7 separate regions of the Homo sapiens genome follow, and regions 1, 3, 4, 5, 6 and 7 are each linked to region 2. The links are contacts of gene promoters, found by promoter capture Hi-C in blood cells and fetal thymus (Javierre and others, 2016). All regions are on one chromosome and are shown on one strand. The core of a region is centred on a gene start or on the middle of the fragment in contact, and the rest is flanking DNA. Distances in the headings are between cores, read along the strand shown. Region 1 overlaps ALPK2 (alpha kinase 2). Region 2 holds the start of SEC11C (SEC11 homolog C, signal peptidase complex subunit). Region 3 overlaps ALPK2 (alpha kinase 2). Region 4 overlaps ALPK2 (alpha kinase 2). Region 5 overlaps ALPK2 (alpha kinase 2). Region 6 overlaps PMAIP1 (phorbol-12-myristate-13-acetate-induced protein 1). Region 7 overlaps ALPK2 (alpha kinase 2).

The links. Contacts are between HindIII fragments. The CHiCAGO score rates a contact against its expected background, and 5 or more counts as called.
Region 1: a contact is called between a fragment that was not itself captured here and the fragment with the promoter of SEC11C in region 2, in 1 of 17 cell types (naive CD4 T cells). The highest score is 5.6, in naive CD4 T cells.
Region 3: a fragment that was not itself captured here is called in contact with the fragment with the promoter of SEC11C in region 2 in 1 of 17 cell types (activated CD4 T cells); the score reaches 6.4 in activated CD4 T cells.
Region 4: a fragment that was not itself captured here is called in contact with the fragment with the promoter of SEC11C in region 2 in 5 of 17 cell types (naive CD4 T cells, naive CD8 T cells, total CD4 T cells and 2 more); the score reaches 7.7 in naive CD4 T cells.
Region 5: a fragment that was not itself captured here is called in contact with the fragment with the promoter of SEC11C in region 2 in 1 of 17 cell types (naive CD8 T cells); the score reaches 6.9 in naive CD8 T cells.
Region 6: a contact is called between a fragment that was not itself captured here and the fragment with the promoter of SEC11C in region 2, in 2 of 17 cell types (non-activated CD4 T cells and total CD8 T cells). The highest score is 7.9, in non-activated CD4 T cells.
Region 7: a contact is called between a fragment that was not itself captured here and the fragment with the promoter of SEC11C in region 2, in 1 of 17 cell types (monocytes). The highest score is 5.6, in monocytes.

Annotation. Positions count from the first base shown.
Region 1 is chr18:58,533,681-58,536,380 of GRCh38, forward strand. ALPK2 (alpha kinase 2) reads right to left here. Exons shown (of 13, transcript NM_052947.4): 5 at 1,154-2,700. Among named protein-coding and RNA genes, the nearest start is that of ALPK2-AS1, 22 kb to the right of the region's middle. RefSeq lists enhancers at 1,120-1,519, 1,620-1,669, 1,662-2,700, 1,780-1,999, 2,060-2,259. The HindIII fragment of the contact is 8,331 bases long and covers 1-2,700 here.
Region 2 is chr18:59,138,609-59,141,416 of GRCh38, forward strand. It overlaps SEC11C (SEC11 homolog C, signal peptidase complex subunit), which reads left to right and starts at 1,276. Exons shown (of 6, transcript NM_033280.4): 1 at 1,276-1,427. The coding sequence starts at 1,341. RefSeq lists silencers at 706-755, 1,176-1,315 and enhancers at 866-955, 1,036-1,135. The HindIII fragment of the contact is 2,684 bases long and covers 364-2,808 here.
Region 3 is chr18:58,515,344-58,518,043 of GRCh38, forward strand. ALPK2 (alpha kinase 2) reads right to left here. Exons shown (of 13, transcript NM_052947.4): 9 at 1,565-1,839. Among named protein-coding and RNA genes, the nearest start is that of ALPK2-AS1, 40 kb to the right of the region's middle. The HindIII fragment of the contact is 5,380 bases long and covers 1-2,700 here.
Region 4 is chr18:58,495,664-58,498,363 of GRCh38, forward strand. ALPK2 (alpha kinase 2) reads right to left here. Exons shown (of 13, transcript NM_052947.4): 12 at 2,386-2,434. Among named protein-coding and RNA genes, the nearest start is that of MIR3591, 46 kb to the left of the region's middle. The HindIII fragment of the contact is 1,220 bases long and covers 813-2,032 here.
Region 5 is chr18:58,609,658-58,612,357 of GRCh38, forward strand. It overlaps ALPK2 (alpha kinase 2), which reads right to left. Exons shown (of 13, transcript NM_052947.4): 2 at 2,032-2,160. The coding sequence starts at 2,140. Among named protein-coding and RNA genes, the nearest start is that of SNORA108, 10 kb to the left of the region's middle. RefSeq lists an enhancer at 1,818-2,688. The HindIII fragment of the contact is 8,099 bases long and covers 1-2,700 here.
Region 6 is chr18:59,902,166-59,905,096 of GRCh38, forward strand. It overlaps PMAIP1 (phorbol-12-myristate-13-acetate-induced protein 1), which reads left to right. Exons shown (of 2, transcript NM_021127.3): 2 at 482-2,140. The coding sequence ends at 588. Among named protein-coding and RNA genes, the nearest start is that of PMAIP1, 3.6 kb to the left of the region's middle. RefSeq lists an enhancer at 2,661-2,830. The HindIII fragment of the contact is 5,229 bases long and covers 1-2,931 here.
Region 7 is chr18:58,566,779-58,569,478 of GRCh38, forward strand. All of the region lies in intron 4 of ALPK2 (alpha kinase 2), which reads right to left. Among named protein-coding and RNA genes, the nearest start is that of ALPK2-AS1, 11 kb to the left of the region's middle. The HindIII fragment of the contact is 5,735 bases long and covers 1-2,700 here.

The DNA.
Region 1 (2,700 bases), core at 126-2,625, 600 kb before region 2:
CCTGGGCTTAAGCAATCCTCCTACCTCGGCCTCCCAAATTGCTGGGATTACAGGTGTGAGCCACAATGCCGAGCCATTCTCTTTAAATATGCTTTAAAATATAGATACTAATAACCTGATTGGATACTTCCAAACTCTTCAGAAGGCAGTTTTGTCTTTAAACCTTTCTGCAACAGGGGTTAGGACCCATTTGATGGGATGGGAATAACAAACGCCAGCCTCAAAATCTAAGGACTCAGGTTAAGAGAGGAGAAAATTCTTCCCTTCTGATCAGCCATCCGTAGCTTTTCGCTCCAGAGCACACAGGCCACTGTAGCTTGCTGCAATATTTTCTCTTCTGACTTCTACCAGGGTGTGTGGGGAGAGAAAGAAGAGCTCTGAAATAAAACAGGCTAAAATTTGGTCTATAAATGGAATTTGGGACTGAAATGATTCCTCAGACAAAGTAGAATTAACTGCAATTTCAGGACTTTTTTTTTTTTTTTAACAGCATCATAGGTAGAGGTTGATCAAGGACTTTTGAGGCTTGAGTGGTCTGAAACCTAGAACAGAGACCTCAGAGGATTTTAGATTTAGATAAATGGGAAGGGTGAGTTGAAAAGAAATGTTACACTCAAATTTGGAAGAAAAAACCAAGGTTCAAGGAAGTTATTTTTAATGAAAAATCAGTGATTAAAGAGGAGAATCCCAATTTGTACCAAAATATTCATTTCCACAAATCCTGCTTAGTGCATGGTCTATTTCATTATACTAATTAGCTACACTGATTAATGCTTCTGTTTATATTTTTAAATAGATTTTGTAAAAGAGGATAATGAAACGGAAAAGCACCTTCATCACATTCCCCTCCAACAGACATGCCTACAGGCGGCCTTTATCAGTGGTTCTCAATCGTGGTTCTCCCGATAGATCACCTGGGAACTTGTTAGAAGTGCAAATTTCACACACTGGGGGAGGGGAGCAATCTGGGTTTTAACAAGTCCTCCAGGTGATTCTGATGCCACATGCTGAAGCCACTTGGCCACAACCATAGCATCAATGCCCACCTGGGGGACACTGGCCTTAATTGCAAAGGACCCTCGAGGACACAGGAACTGGATACCTGGTCTACAAGCCCAAACTTTAACAATGATGGACAGCAACAGAACCTCACCTCTTCCTTCTCTTTTGCAAGATGGCTTTTTTGGGTCTTGTTTCTCTTCTGTGTGTGATAATGATGTTTCGAGTTTGGGCATCTTTTTAAGAAAGGCTGAGTTCTTTCTGATATTTTCCTTTTCTTCCAGTTTCAGCCTCAGTGCTGCCACCCTGGACAAAATTTTCTTCTTTACTCCCTCAGCTAAATGTCCACTGCCTGGGGCTTCTGGCTTCCTCTTGACCTCCTCTGACCCCGTCACTGCTGTGAGGGTCCCTGGCGATTTGCCTGCTCGGGCTTCCAGGGACTTCTCTCTCTCCCTGGACTTTTTCGCACAGCCCAGGGTGCCCTTTTGACATGGATCCTGCAGTAATTTAGGGGCTTTCTCTAACTCACGTTCTCCTGAAATAAATGCCAAGGTCTTCGCTGAGGAGCTAGATGAGCTTGGGGGTTTGGTTTCCCCAATTTGAAGCACCTCTATTTTAGGTTCCTCCATTTTGTGGCTTATCAAAAAGTCTGTGACATTTCCTTCAGGAGATGAAGTACAAGGGAACCTGGTAAGATCAGGAGAAGAGGGCAAAGGTTTCCCACGCTCATTCTCAATAGTTCCCCTTTTCTGTGAAACAGGAAACACATACTGACGCTTTCTGGGCTCAACTATGTCATTTTCAGGGACGTCATGAATTTGGCCTGTGGAGTTGTGCGTGTCAACCCCAAGAGAAGCGTGAGTCATTATTGGAAGACAACTAGAAAGAGGTGAAGTGGGGGAAATCAATTCTGCTTTGTCCTTTTTGCTTTGCTCAGCCTCCCCTAAGCTCCCATCACTGCTTTCTTGTATTTGGCCTATGCTACATCCACTTGGAATTCTTTCACCGCCTTCGCTGGGTTGCAGGACTTGCCAAATGGCAGTTTTTGCCTCCTCAGGTTGAATTTGTTCAGCCTCCTGCTTCATACTGCCTTCTTGGCTTCTGCTGATTCTATTTTCACTCAGAATGGTTCCCTGGAGACATGGAACTTGCAAAATGGCCGGCTGGATTTCCGCTTCGTGGCCCATGTTTCCGTCATTTGATTGACCCCCTTCTCTGGCGCCCTGTGGTGTGGTTTCAGAGGGCTCTGGTTTTCCAGCCCTGGTGTACTCTATCACACTTATCTCATCAATGGGATCTACAGAGGACTCTAGGATTTTAGGGCAGGTCAGAAACTTTTTAAAGAAGGCAGTGTGATCCATCTTGAGTTGTTTTTCCTCCTGGTCTTGACTCACATTGTTAACATTTTCCTTCCCTCCAGTTTCAGAAGCCGCTGACAGTGAATCTGTGACAGATAACTCCTTTTCATCTACAGGGTCCACGGATGACTCCAGGAGTCTGGGTTGGCTGAAACCCCGGGAAGAAAGACTTCTCCAATGTACACTGATGGTGGGCTCTTCGCCTTTATGGCTTTCTCTGCTATCAGCAAGGGCTGACTCAGCATCCTCTGGACTGTGAGCCAATGCTGCTATTTCAGAGGGGGCCAATTCAGGCACAACAGCATCTGCCTTTAGACTATCAGGTACAGCCCAGACCTTGTCA
Region 2 (2,808 bases), core at 26-2,525:
GGATCCCCAAAATTCTCCTTGTCCCTCCAACAGGAGGGGAAATGTAATGGAGGTGAAGTTGGAATGCAAAGAAACAGAACTCTTAACCAATAGCAATTGCAATATCTTGCTTTTGAAAGTTTTACACATTCTATGGTTAAGTTTCTCCCACACCTTGGAAAAACACCTTTGCAATTGAAGGGTCCCAGAACTTACCTTTCATTAGCTTCATGGTAAGTCAGCTTCTGGTATATTTTAAATTGCAACCTGATCCTTTCCCCCAGACCTCCCCATTCAACTTATCTGCTTTTCCTGTTGTCATAGCACCTCCATCCTTTAGGTACCGTATAAATTATCCATTATGTCTGCCTTCGGTAGAATATAAGCTTCATGAGGGCAAGAATCTTTGCTTGTTTTGTTAACTGATGTTTCTCAAGTGCCTAGAACAAGGCCAGGTGCATGGTAGGTGCTCCATAAAGATTTGTGGATAAATAAATACAATAAAGAATGCATAATGCATACACGAGTGAGTGAATGAACCAAAGGTAATCTAGGATCAGAACTGTGATGATCTAGGACTTCTAAATTTAAAACTTTGAGTTATATTCCACTCATTTCCACTTAACCTTGGCCATGTCAATGAACCTTTCTGGGCCTTTGCTTTCTCGTGTATGAAATTAGGTGGTTATGTATTCATTTAATTAATATCTATTGCAACCCAATTATGGTCAAGGCATTCAAAGATACTTCCTTGCATACAAGTGGTACCACTCAAAATGCAGAATTCAGCGGCCTCAAAAGTCCCGCCTCTTCCAAGCCCCGCCCACCGCAGTCCATCTTTAGGCCCCGCCCCAATTCGGCTCAGCCCGCCCCAGCGTAGAGGCACCACCTTTCCTCGCTGCAGTCATCCAATAGCCAAGATACACGGCTAGGTGATTTGCGAGCGGGAGTTAGGTGTCCTCTTGGCGCCTGACCAGAGTCGGGAAATTCAGCTCCTCTTGAGTAGTCCCTTCCCCGAGTTGCCCCCCGAGGTATGCGGGGTCACTCGCTGCTCGATGTTCCCTCCGAAGGGTCGGACAAGGCTCCGGAGCCCTGTAGCTGCCCTCCCTAGGAGCCCCGGGTCTTCACTGGCCGAGGTGCCCACCCCGCAGCATTCTGGGAGTGGTAGTTTTCTTCCTTCAGGTTCATTCCTGGCTGGCCAGTGCCCAAGACTGGCGAGACTACGATTCCCAGACGCCCAAGCGAGTCGCCGGTCACGTGGCCGCAAGGACGCTGGGCCGGTGGGCGGGGGCCGGCAGGTGCTCCGCAGCCGTCTGTGCCACCCAGAGCCGGCGGGCCGCTAGGTCCCCGGAGACCCTGCTATGGTGCGTGCGGGCGCCGTGGGGGCTCATCTCCCCGCGTCCGGCTTGGATATCTTCGGGGACCTGAAGAAGATGAACAAGCGCCAGGTGACGGAGGAGGGTGGTGAGCGCGCCGTGGCCGGGACCGCCTGTGCTAGCGGGGAGTCGGGGCTTCCCAGTCAGGGCTCCGGCTCCCAGTGAATGCGGCCGGGCGGCCACCCGAAGCTCCCGCGCTGGGCTCTCAGGCCCTGGGTTCTACGCCTACGTGTGGGCATGGGTGTGCACTTCCTTGCCCTGACAAGAGCACAATTAGGGGAGGGTGCAGGAAAGGGGAGAATAGAAACCCCGTGCCATGGAATGTCAAATGTGGTTGAGAATGCCACAGCCACGCTTGTGGGAGAGATGACTCGGTGAACGACAGCTCTCTGAGCGTATTTGAAGGGCCACCCGGTGAAGAGGGAACCGATTTCTCTGTGGGGCTTCAGAGGCCTGACTGCCGGCAGGTGGAAGAGGCAGAAAGGCAGGCGAGAGGGAAGAACTTTCCTACAACGGGAGCTGTCCAGCGATGCCTCCCAAAGCAGTTTCTTCCCAGCCTGGGCAGTTGTTTTTCCCCTGACCGTGGGTCGGGACTAAATAATGCTCCTTGTGCCTAGAGAGCTCACAAGCTGTGCGCAATCATTGTGGACTCAACCAGTGTTCCCAGCGAGATTCCAGAAGCCTTCTCTAACTTCTGAGATGGCTGCACTCTGAATATAGGAGGCAGTGTAGGGTCTTTGGGCAGCTGGGGTGGTTGAATTCCCTCTCCTTTGTGAGAGGACCTCAGAGGAAAACGTTCCTCTTGCTCTCTTTTTAGCCACTTATTGGCCATCATCACTGTCTTTGGGGCCTTATCTCTTCACTATAAGGTTAAGAGTGAGTAGGGATTGGAAAGGAAGCCCTCTCAGTCAGGAAAAATACGACTATGTAGGCTTCTAGGTAGAGAATTTGGGGGACCTGTAGGACCTGAATATCACGGTGGATACTAATGCCACTATTGCTACTAATAAATTGTGCTAAGAAAAATGGGACCTTCCAACCAGGGAGTTTTGATTGTCTTTGAAAATGGTATTAATCCTCATTATTTTGATGGCATCCAGTTTCATTTGCTCCATCATGTTGAGATGTGGGGTGGTGCCCATGGGAGGTCACAGCTTACTCCTTTAGGCATACGTGTTTTTCCCCTCTCACTCTCCTCCCCCTTCCCCAAGTAGAATTTCAGACTAGTGCAGTAGTGTGGGAAAGTTTGATAATTTCTATTTCATCAACCGTGTTTAGGATGTGGTAGTGTCTAGGTGTGCAAAGCTGATGACTCCTGTTTCTGGAAGATGAGTTGTAGTAGAGATTATCACCAGCTTAAAAAAGTAACTGCTAATGTCCTGAGCATTGATGCTGTTCACAAGAATATCCTCCAGGAAGCAGAGCTTTGTTTAAAAATCTAGACTTAATGGCT
Region 3 (2,700 bases), core at 188-2,687, 620 kb before region 2:
AGCCGGCAGGGCCGAAATTCACCCCAGAACTAAGGGGACTGGCCCCTCATCACGTCATCAGGTGGCACTTGGGGCACTACTGGGTTTCCTGTGAGATCTGCCATTGCAAACCCTTTTCAAAGGTGTAATTGGAGTAGTCAATAATGAACAGCACAGGATTTCTGCCTTAGGAAAAGCTAAGTGGATTCTGCATCCTATGCTGTGGGGCTTTTCTGAGCAAGAATCCAGATGCTGGGAGGTTTTCCAAGACTGTGTCATATTTGAGATGGAGGGAATACTGAGAGAGAAAAGAAAAAAGCAGAGTGGATTGGGAGAAGAAAGGAATACAATGGGCAGAACACTATATTCAGAGAGCAAGGCTGCCTTCAGAAGCACAAAGTCCCACGTGGCAGTGCCGCAGGATCACGATGCTTAATGCTTGACTGTACCTGAGAGATTCATCTAAGTTTAACCTATGGATTTTAATATTTTAAATGTTTTAATTGTTTTAGATGTTTATGGTAAACATTTTAAAGGGGCACAGAGCTGGTGAAAGACCCAACTTTCTTGACAGCTACACCAGTGCCGGTGTAAACAGTGAAATATGTGGACCAGGTGTGGTGATTCATGCCTGTAATCCCAGCACTTTGGGAGGCAGAGGCAGGAGGATCACTTGGAACCCTCCAGGAGGTCAAGACCAGCCTGGGCAACATAGGGAGACCCTGTCTCTGAAAAAAAAAATAAAAATTAGTTGGGCGTGATGGCATGCGCCTGTAGTCCTAGCTACTTGGGAGGCTGAGGCAGGAGGGTTGCTTAAGGCCAGGAGGCCGAGACTGCTGTGGAGCCGTGATCATGCCACTGTACTCCAGCCTGGGGGAAAGAGTGAGACACTGTCTCAAAAAAGAAAAAAAAAAAAAGACGGAGTGAAATATATGGACCAAATATGTGGATAGGAGGAGGAAGGAGCGAGAGAAGCTAAGGCTCTCCTGCCCTATCCTCTCACCTCGAGTTCTATGACTCAATAACACAGAGAAGTGGGAACTCAGCTAGAGACTTGGGTCTGTCTCTCTTCCTATATTTTATACACTACCATTAAACCAAACTCAGGAAGGCAGAAAACAAGACCAATGCTGACCCTTCTGGGTATACCCCACCCCTCTCCCTCTCCACAAAACAAAACCAAACAAAACACTCCAGCAACTAGTGCTGATGTTATCTGTTCCTGGAGACCCTGGCATCTAGTGTAGCTTAGAACCCCCACTTTCCATATCATCCTAGGTCCAAGTAGACTCAAACCGCCAGGGATGTCATAGGGCTTCTTAGAAACAAAATCAATTATATCTCGGGTTAGAACTGGTGAGGTGTCTCTAGGCATTGGCTGAGTCCCCAGTAGCTGGCATAAGGCCAAGAAATTACTCCCGAGAATTGAGAAGTGATCCCCAGCATTGAGATTGAATTGAAACCCCAAAAGAGGAAAAACACCCTTTTGAAGATATTCCCATCAATCCTGAGTCTGATTTTCATCTCGTCTTATCATGGGTGGTTCTCACACCAGAAGTGACAGCCTTTGGGCAGATGGACCCACCTGGGCAGCGAGTTTGTAGTTCCTTTGGATGAGCTCATCATTATTTCTGGTCCCATAGGCAATGGCATTGTGCACCTTAAGCACACAGGCATGGCCAGGTTTGAAGACAGGCATGAGGCCGTGCATCACTGTGCTGCGGAAGGCTTTGCGGTGAACCCCTTCTCCAAAGTGCAGCTCCTCCGTGGCGATCTGACCACGCAGGCGGCCCCCAAAGTAGCTGTCATGGAGGAAGTCTTCTTTGAAGATGAGTTGGCTGAATTCAATCTCTTCACATCCTGAAACACAGCACAGCTTTGGTTGGAAAGAATACCTCCCAGTCCTGCTCCTTGGCTAACTCCACATGGGGAGGGTCCCCACATAAGGACAATGACAAGGCTGACCTGCAGAACCAAGAGGGGGCAGACACACTTAACCCTTCAAAAGAGGCATAGCTAAAAGAAGAGATGAGTGGTTTGGTGAGGAGGAGACAGGTCATTGAATGAGAATGTGGGAACATCAGGGATGGGTTGGAGCAAAACTGGAAAGATCAGGAAAAGAATTCTAGACAGATCTGGAAAATATAAGTGGAACCAAGCAAAGTAACAAAAGTCAAGTTGAAAAGATGGGAAAAGTGTAGAGGAGGGAAGAAAGACCAATGATAAGATCTGATAATATCGGACCAACCTTTCTTTCATTATTGCCCCCCACCCCCCGCAACCACGGAATCTTTGCTGGAATTTGTTTTAATTGCCTGCCATGAAAGTTTAATACCACAAATATACTATCTGTTTATGTACCATATGTATATTTGTTCTTTATACAGAAAAAGAGTAACTTTTTTTTTGCCTCCCAAGAACCAATGTTGGTCCTCTTGGTAGCAATACTGCCTCCATTGAGAAAGCATGTGATAAGTATAGGAAACAGGTAGCAATAAACAAAACAAAAAAATAATAAAAAGAATTGCCTTTGAAGAGAAATCGAAAAAAAGGTAGAATTATTTTGCATTTATTTGTAAAAAGAAAAGTAGAATTATTTTAAGTTTTCTAACAGCTGTTTTTTTTTGCAGAGTGGATTCTACACATGTTTGAGATGACAGTGAATTTAATCAGGAAGGTCCACTTTAAACTAGAGATGACCCAATCAGACTTCTCATTCAC
Region 4 (2,700 bases), core at 173-2,672, 640 kb before region 2:
CTTTGTTTTGGTAGAGAGTTGTTCTAAATAACAGCACGAAATTTGCCTACTCTGGTGTCAGGCTAAGACATGAGGAGCGAAGGGAAACTAATATTTATCTAGCTCACTTCCAGTTTCAGGGGCTAGGTGTAGATTAACTGGGGGAATACTCAGGGCAAGCCGGAGTGTCCCCATGCTGTACATCACTGACTTTAAGAACTTAGTCACATGCCCACAGTCACACAGCTGGTATGACGAGAAGCCAGGATTCAAACTAGGGCTGGCGGATGCTTGCATCTGCAAGGTTCTGCAGAACACATGGAGCCTGGAAAGGAAGGCTCCGTTTGGAAAATCCTTCTGGGGTCCAGAAGCCTCCATAAATAGGGCACCATATAATTTATCTTCTAAATGGGTACACTTGTTCAGGATCAATGCTAAAGCGTATGGGATGTGAGGACATCAGGCATAAAATGGTACCATCATGGGGAAACTGCAATAGACGTTCATCCCCCTCATCAGGTAGGCTAGGCAAATTCCTACGATGCCAAGAAGCGAGGCTACTATCAGGAGAAATGGAAGCAGCAGCATCAGGGTATGAACTGGGTCTCGCTCTAAATCCCTCGTTCCTTCCTCCCCACTACATCATAATCCCTCCTAATGCGCTGTCTTCACAAGCCCAAGAACATACCCAATTCCCTGAAGTGTATGCCAGCCAGGTCTCTGGTGAGCACAGGGGAGAAGCCTGGAGACAGTTCCAACATAAAACTTCATCATCACTGAGCCATCCCAGGGAAAAGGTCCAAACCGCATTCTGGTTCTAAAACCCAACTGGAAGCTTTGTGCAATCGGCGAGAACTTCATGAATCAGACTTACTGACCTGGAGGTTAAAAGAAAGAGCGATCCCCTTCCTACTTTTTCAGATTCCTCTACTTCTCTCTGTCCTTTATTGAAGCTGAAAATTAGCATATTTGTTGGATCGTGGCTGACACTGATGGTCTGAAGTAACCAGAAAGCTCCCACGGATAAGTTGTTCTCAGCCTTGGGAAAGGAAGCTGGATTCATCCCACCACTTTATTTTCTGTGTTTCTGATGCTTTGACATCTTGTGCCTTACTGGCCCTGGAGAGACTTTACTCCTCTCAGGGCTGCCATATTCCTAGAGAGAGTAAATGATCACCTTCCAGAGAGCCTTTCATATATATGCAAACCAACCAATCCAGAGCCACACCCCTAATACCCCCTCTGTGGTCTCTCATACTGGGGCCACTGTCCACCTGCCCTAATCACCCCAGTGCAGGTACCAGACACTAGGGCCAGCCCTATGTCCCAGAGACTGCTGGAAAATGTCAAATTAGCCAATCCTAGGACTGTTTATCCTCCCTCACCTATTCCTTCCCGAATAAACCATAATATTCTTGCCTGCATTTTCCCCTCACTTCCTCTGCCTCCCAACTGGCCCTGCTGCTTCTTAGATGGCCCCTGGTGGCCTGGTGCCCCCTCTTGGCAGCTGCAAGTAACAAACTAGCTTTTCAATGGCAACTATCTCCTGATCTGTTGACCTTACGATACCTCATACTAATAAAACCTACATTTTGAAATAGAAGCCATCCCCTCCAAAAGTCATGAGCTCTCTTTTCCTCCCCCTTACAGATGGTCTTAGTACGTAGGAAGAGCAGGAGTGGGCAAAGGCGATGGTGGTTCCAACACAGAATTGCATCTTCACCAAGAACAACAAATGGCTGGCTTTCTCCTCAGTGGCAGTCAAGTAAAGAAGTGGGAAGGGGCAGCTTGTTAAAAAGATGCCCCAGTAAAATGTGATCATAGCATCATCTGTGTGTGCCTCACACTAAGCAAAGCACCACTCTGTATTAGAAAAATAAAGCCATCATCAAAAACAGGTAACTAATCACAGCTCTGCCAGAGACATTGCCTCCTATGATTATCATCATGGGGGTCTGTGAGCTGCCTAAAATACTTTTTGGAGAAAAATTAATTTAAAATATACAAATTGAATTCACTGCATTCAATTGCAAAAAAAATTTTTTTTCAAAGAAGCTTTTAATAGTGAAGATATTAAATGTAAAAGAACGGAATATTCCCAGTTAAAAGGCATCCAAGTAATGCCAGCATTTTCTCCCCGTGGTACTCCTATTGGTTATTAATCTTGAAATGTGTTTGCAAGAGTTCTCATTTGTTTCAAAGTTAAGAAACAAATGTGCTCCCCTGTGAGAACAAAGTCCATAAATATTTTATGTAAGTGAGAGAAATGAATTCATTCCAAGAACATTCGTCATCCACAGTTAGGACAAGAAATTCACTTTGCCCACCTCAGCCTGACAGTGTCTGCCTGGAAGGTGTCTGTAAGCCCAGTGTTAATTGATGCACACTCCATTTTTTCCTACTCACCCTTTAGCCAGCGTTGCTATGCCAACGTCAGTTAGCTTCATTCCTACACCTACAGGAAGAGAAAGCAAAGATGGGAGTTTGTGTTACTCAGGGCCCCTCAGGAAGTTGGGCCATCTAGCCCCAGGGAAGGGGTAATGACAGCTCATCCTCCTTCTCCTTCCTGCATAAACACTCGAGGCCTCTTTCATATACGCATCCAGCTTTAGGCAGGGACCATGGGGAAGGTGGCAGTTAGGGGGAATCAAGTCTCATGTGAGCAGACAACCCAAGCCCTCTCGGCTCTGGAAATGAAGTCCTCTGCCTGCCTGGCCCACC
Region 5 (2,700 bases), core at 183-2,682, 530 kb before region 2:
TAGGGAAGTGGTATCTGGTATCTTGTGGGTGGTTCTCTTTTCTCCTGCCACTTGCTGGAAACCTCACCTGAAAGTCCTCCCCTTGTTTTTGGAACCTACTGTGGGTCATACATTGAGAGCCACCTCCTAAACATTTCAGAAGTATCTGGGCGAGGGGACCACAGCCAAGTTCAGGGCATGTCCAAACACACGAGGGCTCTGCTCTGAAGACTCAAGGTCAGCTTGCACTGTTCTGTCTGTCTGAATGACGATGGACCATCACGGAGACAGAAGCCTGGGCTTGGAGAGGCTGAGCGCACAGTTCTACACTGCAACTCCAGGCTGAAATCGAGGTTTTATGACAACTTCTGCTAGCGAAAGGCAGCCGTTTCTGAGGCTCACCCCTCTCCTCTCTGGACTTAGAAAAATGGGATCAGAGACCAACCTGGCCGACATAGCGAAACCCCATTCTACTAAAAATACAAAAATGAGCTGGGCATGGTGGTGTGCATCTGGAATCCCAGCCACTTGGGAGGCTGAGGCATGAGAATTGCTTGAACCTGGGAGGTGGAGGTTGCAGAGAGCTGAGATTGTGCCACTGCACTCCAGCCTGGGCAACAGAGCAAGAGACCCTGTCTCAAAAAAAAAAAAAAAAAAAAAAAGAGCAAGGGGAGAAGAGTTTTCTGTCTGCCCTCAAGAAACACCATTGGCACCTTCATGTTTTCAAGGGTAGAGACATAATCCAAAAAAGAAAAGAGAACCACCCATGAGGTACAAGATATCACTTCCCTACCCAATTGTTTTATGTTTATGTTCTTTTAATGATAAATCCTTTTACCATTGGGAGTACCCATACTTGATCAATTCTGAGTTATTTATTCACCAATCCAGAATCCCAGTCCCCTGTTTTTTCTCCACTGGTCACCCATTGCCTCTGTTTTAAGATTTTCACTTCTTATTAGCATCCCTGAAGAAGGCGTGCAGAGGAGAGACTAATTTAGCCAGTTTTAAGATATCAATTAGGGCCAGGCGCGGTGGCTCACGCCTGTAATTCCAGCACTTTGGGAGACCAAGGCAGGCAGATCATGAGGTCAAGAGATGGAGACCATCCTGGCCAACATGGTGAACCACCCCCCTCCCCCCGTCCCTATTAAAAATATAAAAATTAGCCAGGCGAGCCAGCCGCAGTGGCTCACGCCTGTAATCCCAGCACTTTGGGAGGCCGAGGCAGGCAGACCACCTGAGGTCAGGAGTTCAAGACCAGCCTGACCAACATGGTGAAACCCCATCTCTACTAAAATACAAAAATTAGCCGGGTGTAGTGGCGGGTGCCTGTAATCTCAGCTACTTGGGAGGCTGAGGTGGGAGAATTGCTTGAAACCAAGAGGCGGAGGTTGCAGTGAGCTGAGATCGTGCCATTGCACTCCAGCCTGGCAACAGAGCAAGACTCTGTCTCAAAAAAAAAAAAACAATAAAAATAAAAATAAAAAAATTAGCCAGGTACAGTGGTGCGTGCCTCTATTCCCAGCTACTCGGGAGGCTGAGGCAGGAGAATAGTTTGAACCCAGGAGGCGGGGGTGGCAGTGAGCCGAGATCACACCACTGCACTCCAGCCTGGGTGACAGAGAAAGACTCCATCTCAAAAAAAAAAAAAAAAGTCAATTAAAGAATAACAGAAGAGTTCCATCAATTTACCGAAAAAAAGTGATTCATGCCATTCCTCTGTGCTCCATGAATTTAAACTATGGTTAAGGACACCCAAGAAAGAAAGAAAATTAAGAGTGGATTATCTGAAAAAAATAACCAGTGTGAGAGCTGCCTAACCCAGAACCACAAGGTGAAGTAAAGATCACTAAATCGTGTCCAGGAAGTCACTCAAAGAAATCTTTTAGAAACAAATCATAGAGGATGGAGTTGCTTCATTGATTACACAGAAAAAAAAACTTCCAAGGTAATTTTCCCAAATGATGTTTTAGTAATGCCTTTGTGAGCCAAGAAACCTGGTATGCAGGGAGATTTTAGAGGGTGATTAGCTAGTCTAGTGATGGTTACCAGATATTATGCAGCGAAGCACAGCGTCTGACTTCTCAGGAACCTTCTGGGAAAGCAATGTAGATAAAAAACACAGCGGGGGCCTCTGGGGCCCTTCGGAGTCTTTCATCCTTTCATGCCGCACCAAATCTGAAAAAAAAAAAAATCCCCGACATCACCATTTGTTCTGGGATTTCTCTGGCCTTCTTAGGAATTCCAGAAACCACAGGGTGCCGCCCTGGCAGCTCACTGCACGCTGGAGGGTGGGCAGACTGAAGGTCTTTGGGCAGCCTTTCCAGGCCGTGGTGCTGCTGGTAGGTGGGCTGGATCCTTCTGTATTTCGGGGATGTCCTGTGCATTGCAGGATATTTAGCCGCATGCCTGGCCTCTACCCACCAGATGCCAATAGCACCCCCACCCCTCCATGTGTGACAATCAAAAATGTCTGCAGACACTGCAGGGGAATGGGGGGGTGCCCTGATTAAGAACCACGAATCCTATTGTCCTAGGCAGACCCCAGAGCACCCAGAGTTCCAATGGAGAGGGAAGCATCCCATGAGGCTATGGTTAGTGCCACCTCCTCTCATTCCTCCTCCTTTCTCTTCTTAAAGTCTTTTCACACTGTGCTCAAAAAAGTGTGCATATGTCTTTGCCTCCAAAAAACATGTCAGTTGTGTTGAAATGATGTCC
Region 6 (2,931 bases), core at 284-2,783, 760 kb after region 2:
AAAATCAAATCCTACTTGAAAGCCACACAGAACTTGACTTCTGTTTCCCAGCCAACCTTAAATGAAGAGAAAAAGATGACATCATCTAAGGCTGGTGACTTATGCTACTCTTTGTAGCATTGCTTTTAAAATAAACAAAGTGGTTTTACAATGTTCTCACATCCCAAAGAATGATAATGCTACTCTTTGTGGTATTTGACATATTTGAAAGTAAGGTAACACTTGCCTCATCCAGGATGCGTTTTTTAAAAACTCAAAGTAAATGTCTTTATTCTTACCTTAACGATTGCTTTCGGTGAGTCACAATGTGTGTAAGTGTGTGTGTGTGTCACATTTGGAAAACAGGTGCACATAAAGCCAAAGTTAAGAGAAATGCTTCCTGGGATACTCAATTTGTCACTAGTGTGGGCGTATTAGGTTTTGCTGGTTACAGTCTGTAATATCATCAATGTTCATGTCCATGTTTTGCTTTCCTTCTCAGAGCTGGAAGTCGAGTGTGCTACTCAACTCAGGAGATTTGGAGACAAACTGAACTTCCGGCAGAAACTTCTGAATCTGATATCCAAACTCTTCTGCTCAGGAACCTGACTGCATCAAAAACTTGCATGAGGGGACTCCTTCAAAAGAGTTTTCTCAGGAGGTGCACGTTTCATCAATTTGAAGAAAGACTGCATTGTAATTGAGAGGAATGTGAAGGTGCATTCATGGGTGCCCTTGGAAACGGAAGATGGAATACATCAAAGTGAATTTCTGTTCAAGTTTTCCCAGATTATCATTCTTTGGGATGAGAGAACATTATAAAACCACTTTGTTTATTTTAAAGCAAGAATGGAAGACCCTTGAAAATAAAGAAGTAATTATTGACACATTTCTTTTTTACTTAGAGAATCGTTCTAGTGTTTTTGCCGAAGATTACCGCTGGCCTACTGTGAAGGGAGATGACCTGTGATTAGACTGGGCGGCTGGGGAGAAACAGTTCAGTGCATTGTTGTTGTTGCTGTTTTTGGTGTTTTGCTTTTCAGTGCCAACTCAGCACATTGTATATGATTCGGTTTATACATATTACCTTGTTATAATGAAAAAACTCATTCTGAGAACACTGAAATGTTATACTCAGTGTTGATTTCTTCGGTCACTACACAACGTAAAATCATTTGTTTCTTTTGACTCAAATTGTATTGCTTCTGTTCAGATGATCTTTCATTCAATGTGTTCCTGTTGGGCGTTACTAGAAACTATGGAAAACTGGAAAATAACTTTGAAAAAATTGGATAAAGTATAGGAGGGTTACTTGGGGCCAGTAAATCAGTAGACTGAACATTCAATATAATAAAAGAACATGGGGATTTTGTATAACCAGGGATAATAAAAAGAAAAAAGAAGTTAATTTTTAATTGATGTTTTTGAAACTTAGTAGAACAAATATTCAGAAGTAACTTGATAAGATATGAATGTTTCTAAAGAAGTTTCTAAAGGTTCGGAAAATGCTCCTTGTCACATTAGTGTGCATCCTACAAAAAGTGATCTCTTAATGTAAATTAAGAATATTTTCATAATTGGAATATACTTTTCTTAAAAAAAAGGAACAGTTAGTTCTCATCTAGAATGAAAGTTCCATATATGCATTGGTGAATATATATGTATACACATACTTACATACTTATATGGGTATCTGTATAGATAATTTGTATTAGAGTATTATATAGCTTCTTAGTAGGGTCTCAAGTAAGTTTCATTTTTTTTATCTGGGCTATATACAGTCCTCAAATAAATAATGTCTTGATTTTATTTCAGCAGGAATAATTTTATTTATTTTGCCTATTTATAATTAAAGTATTTTTCTTTAGTTTGAAAATGTGTATTAAAGTTACATTTTTGAGTTACAAGAGTCTTATAACTACTTGAATTTTTAGTTAAAATGTCTTAATGTAGGTTGTAGTCACTTTAGATGGAAAATTACCTCACATCTGTTTTCTTCAGTATTACTTAAGATTGTTTATTTAGTGGTAGAGAGTTTTTTTTTTCAGCCTAGAGGCAGCTATTTTACCATCTGGTATTTATGGTCTAATTTGTATTTAAACATATGCACACATATAAAAGTTGATACTGTGGCAGTAAACTATTAAAAGTTTTCACTGTTCTTTTCTGTGTGTTAATTTTGTCTTCATCTTGTAAGCTACTAATTACTAAGTGTTCATTATCAAGCCAAAGTATTTTAACTGATTTCCATCAGCAGACATCCTCTGACCTTCTGACCACACTGTCTCCTCCCAGTAGTTGGAGTAGAAAATATAGGGGAGTTTGCATGATTTCTGCTCTCAAGGGACTTACACTTTAATTGGGAGGGGAAATAGTGAAAAATAGGAAATGAATGCCCAACATAGGTCCTTTTTTTTTTTTTTTCTGAGACAGAGTCTTGCTCTGTCGCCCAGGCTGGAGTGCATTGGCACAATTTTGGCTCACTGCAACCTCTGCCTCCTGGGTCTAAGTGATTCTCGTGCTAAAGCCTCCCCCACACGCCACCACACTGGGTAATTTTTGTGTTTTTAGTAGAGACGGGGATTTCACCATGTTGGCCAGGCTGGTCTTGAACTCCTGGCCTCAAGTCATCTGCCCGCCTCGGCCTCCCAAAGTGCTGGGATTACAGCCTATACAGATTCATGATCTAATTAGAGGTGTTTTGTGAGCTGGCATCCTTGACTGCTCCTGGGTCTGTCTGGCAAGAGGAGCTGCAGTGCAGTTTCCTTTTTGGTGACCTCACGCTTCTTCCTCTGCTTCCAGCCGTAGAGTAGCAAAGATTGCTTCATCTGAGGTTAGTCATGTGCAAAAGTAGGTGTAACTCAATGGCCTTCCTGTTTGAGTGTGAGAACTAAAAGATACCCCTAGTTTTTAGCTTCAATCTGGTAGCCACATCTTCACCCCACCTCTGCC
Region 7 (2,700 bases), core at 86-2,585, 570 kb before region 2:
GCAGAAGAAAATTCCAGTCACGAGTTTTTGTTTTTCCTCTTAGGGCAAAGGAGGTTACACTTGAGGAGCCTAAATTTCTTGTTGTTTCCAAACTCCTGTGAGTCTTTACAGAAATGCCTCTAAAAGTTGTAGTATTCTCTCTCTAGATCCATCTAACTGAGCCCATGGTTTCCAAACTTTAATGCCCAAGAGAATCCTCAGACCGCATATTAAAAATGCAGGTTCAGGCCTGCATTTATTTCTCAGACAGCATATTAAAAATGCAGGTTCAGGCCTGCATTTATTTCTCAGACAGCATATTAAAAATGCAGGTTCAGGCCTGCATATTTTTTCACGGTGGCTCATGTCTATAATCCCAGCACTTTGGGAGGCCGAAGCAGGCAGATCACCTGAGGTCAGGAGTTCGAGACCAGTGTGGCCAACATGACGAAACCCTGTCTCTACTTAAAAAAAAAAAAGGCCGGGCGTGATGGCAGGCCCCTGAGGTCCCAACTACTCGGAAGGCTGAGACAAGAGAATCGCTTGAACCTGGGAGGCGGAGGTTGCAGTGAGCCGAGATTGCGCCACTGCAGTCCAGCCTGGGTGACAGAGCAAGACTCTGCCTCAAAATTAATAAAAATGCAGGTTCAGCAAGTCTGTGGTAAAACTTAGGGACCTATGTTGTTTTTTTAAACACGCACCTCATCAGGTGATTCCAATGCAAATAGTCCAGGCCCTCACTTTAAGACACTGCCCTGGGGACTCCAAGCAGAGTAGAACCACCTGAACACGAGACATCCAAATCCTTAGTGCAGGCTGTTTGCCAGGACATGTTTCTGTAATGAGTTAGCTCTGTGAGATCGGTCTACAAGAGAATGATGTCAGTATAACCAACACGTGGCATTGGTTCATACGCAGTTTTTCTTTGGCAAAGGGAACCAGAATAGCTGGAATAAATTACAGAAAATTGAGCAGGAAAACAAGCCTTTGACTCAGCCTCTGCATTGGCAGCAGGGGCCCTATTAAGTTGTATTTTAACAGAATTTCAAATGCAGCCTGCCCTCAGTGGTCCTCTCTCCTAAGAAGCAAACTCCAAGCCCGTGTGTCTAAGGGCAGGTTGAGTGGCGCCCCCAGACCCACTTTAACAGCAGCTTTGCTGGCTCAGAGACCCACTTCTGTCTTTGAGGTCTCCGCACCCTCAAGCTGGCTCCATCTGAAAGATCTCCAGCATCTCCACTCTGTTGTGTGTTTTTAATATCTGCCATGGTGGCCTCCTGCCAGCCTGGGCCACCTCCCTGGGCAGTCCAAGTGAGTTTCCCGGGCACATGTTTTGATTTTATTAGTTTCTGGTTTCAAAATGGTCTGTTTCCTAAGTGACCTCTTGGGGATGCTAATTTTCCCCAAAGCCCTTACACTTTAAGGGTGTGATTTTTCAGAATGTGAGGTGTTTCTGGGATGCATATATGGCACTAGGACAGGAACGCCTTATGTGTGAAGAATACCCATTGCCTCTGTTTGAAAAGTGCTATTGAATAACCTGATGCTGTGTTCCTTGGCTAAGATTGTGGGAAATCACGGGCAAGGACTCCCGAATCCCCAAGAAAGTACATCACAAGCTGTATAGCCTTTAGCTCTCTGCAGCCCTACTCAGGGGAGGTGGAACTTGGAACCCCCCAGGATTTAGCTCCATATGGGCTCCAGGACTCTCAACCACAGCTGTGCCTCAGTTACCCAGGGTCAGCTGGAGCTTCCATAAGGCACGCACGCCTGAGCTCTACCCTCGATCTATTGAAATAAGGACCTCCGGGGTGGGGCTTGTATGTCTGTATACAGTTAGCCTCTGTATCCGTGGGTTTTAAATTTGTGGATTCAACCAATCATGGACCCAAGAGATTTGGGGAAAAATTGCATCTTTACTGAATGTGTACAGACTTTTAAAATTGTTACTCTCAGCAATAGAGTATAACAACTATTCACGTAGCATTTACATTGTATTAGGTGTTATAAGTAATTGGAGATGATTTGAAGTGAACAGGAGGATGTATATAAGTTATTTGCAAATACTATGCCATTTTATATCAGAGACATGAGCATCCTCAGATTTTGGTATCTGAGGGGGGTCCTGGAACCAATCCCCTACAGATACCAAGAGACAAGTCTATTTAGAAGTTACAGGCTGGGCACAGTGGCTCACACCTGTAATCCCAGCACTTTGGGAGGCCAAGGCAAGAGAATCACTTGGGGCCAGGAGTTCGAGACCATCCTGGGCAACATGGCAAAACCCCATCTCTACTAAAAATAGAAAAATTAGCCAGGTGTAGTGGCATGTGCCTGTAGTCTCAGCTGCTCGTGAGCCTGAGGTGGGAGGATCACCTGAGGTCCAGGCTGTAGTAAGCAGTAACCAGGCCACTGCACTCCAACCTGGGTGACAGAGACCCAGTCTTGGGGGGGAGAAAAAGTTTCCATATGATTGTGTAGCTCAGCCAAGGCTCTCAACCTTGGAAGTATAGAGAATCACCTGGGAGCTTTTAGAGCTTCCAACGCCCACACTGCAGACCAAATCACATCAGAATGTCTGAGGGCAAAACCCAGGCAGCTGAATGTTCTAAAGCTCCCAGGTGATTCCATGCATAGCTAGGGTTGAGGGCTTGGCTTTGGGGTCTTTTCTAATCTGAGAAGGATCCTATACTCTGTGGACTGGGGCTATTGGAACTTCAGTGT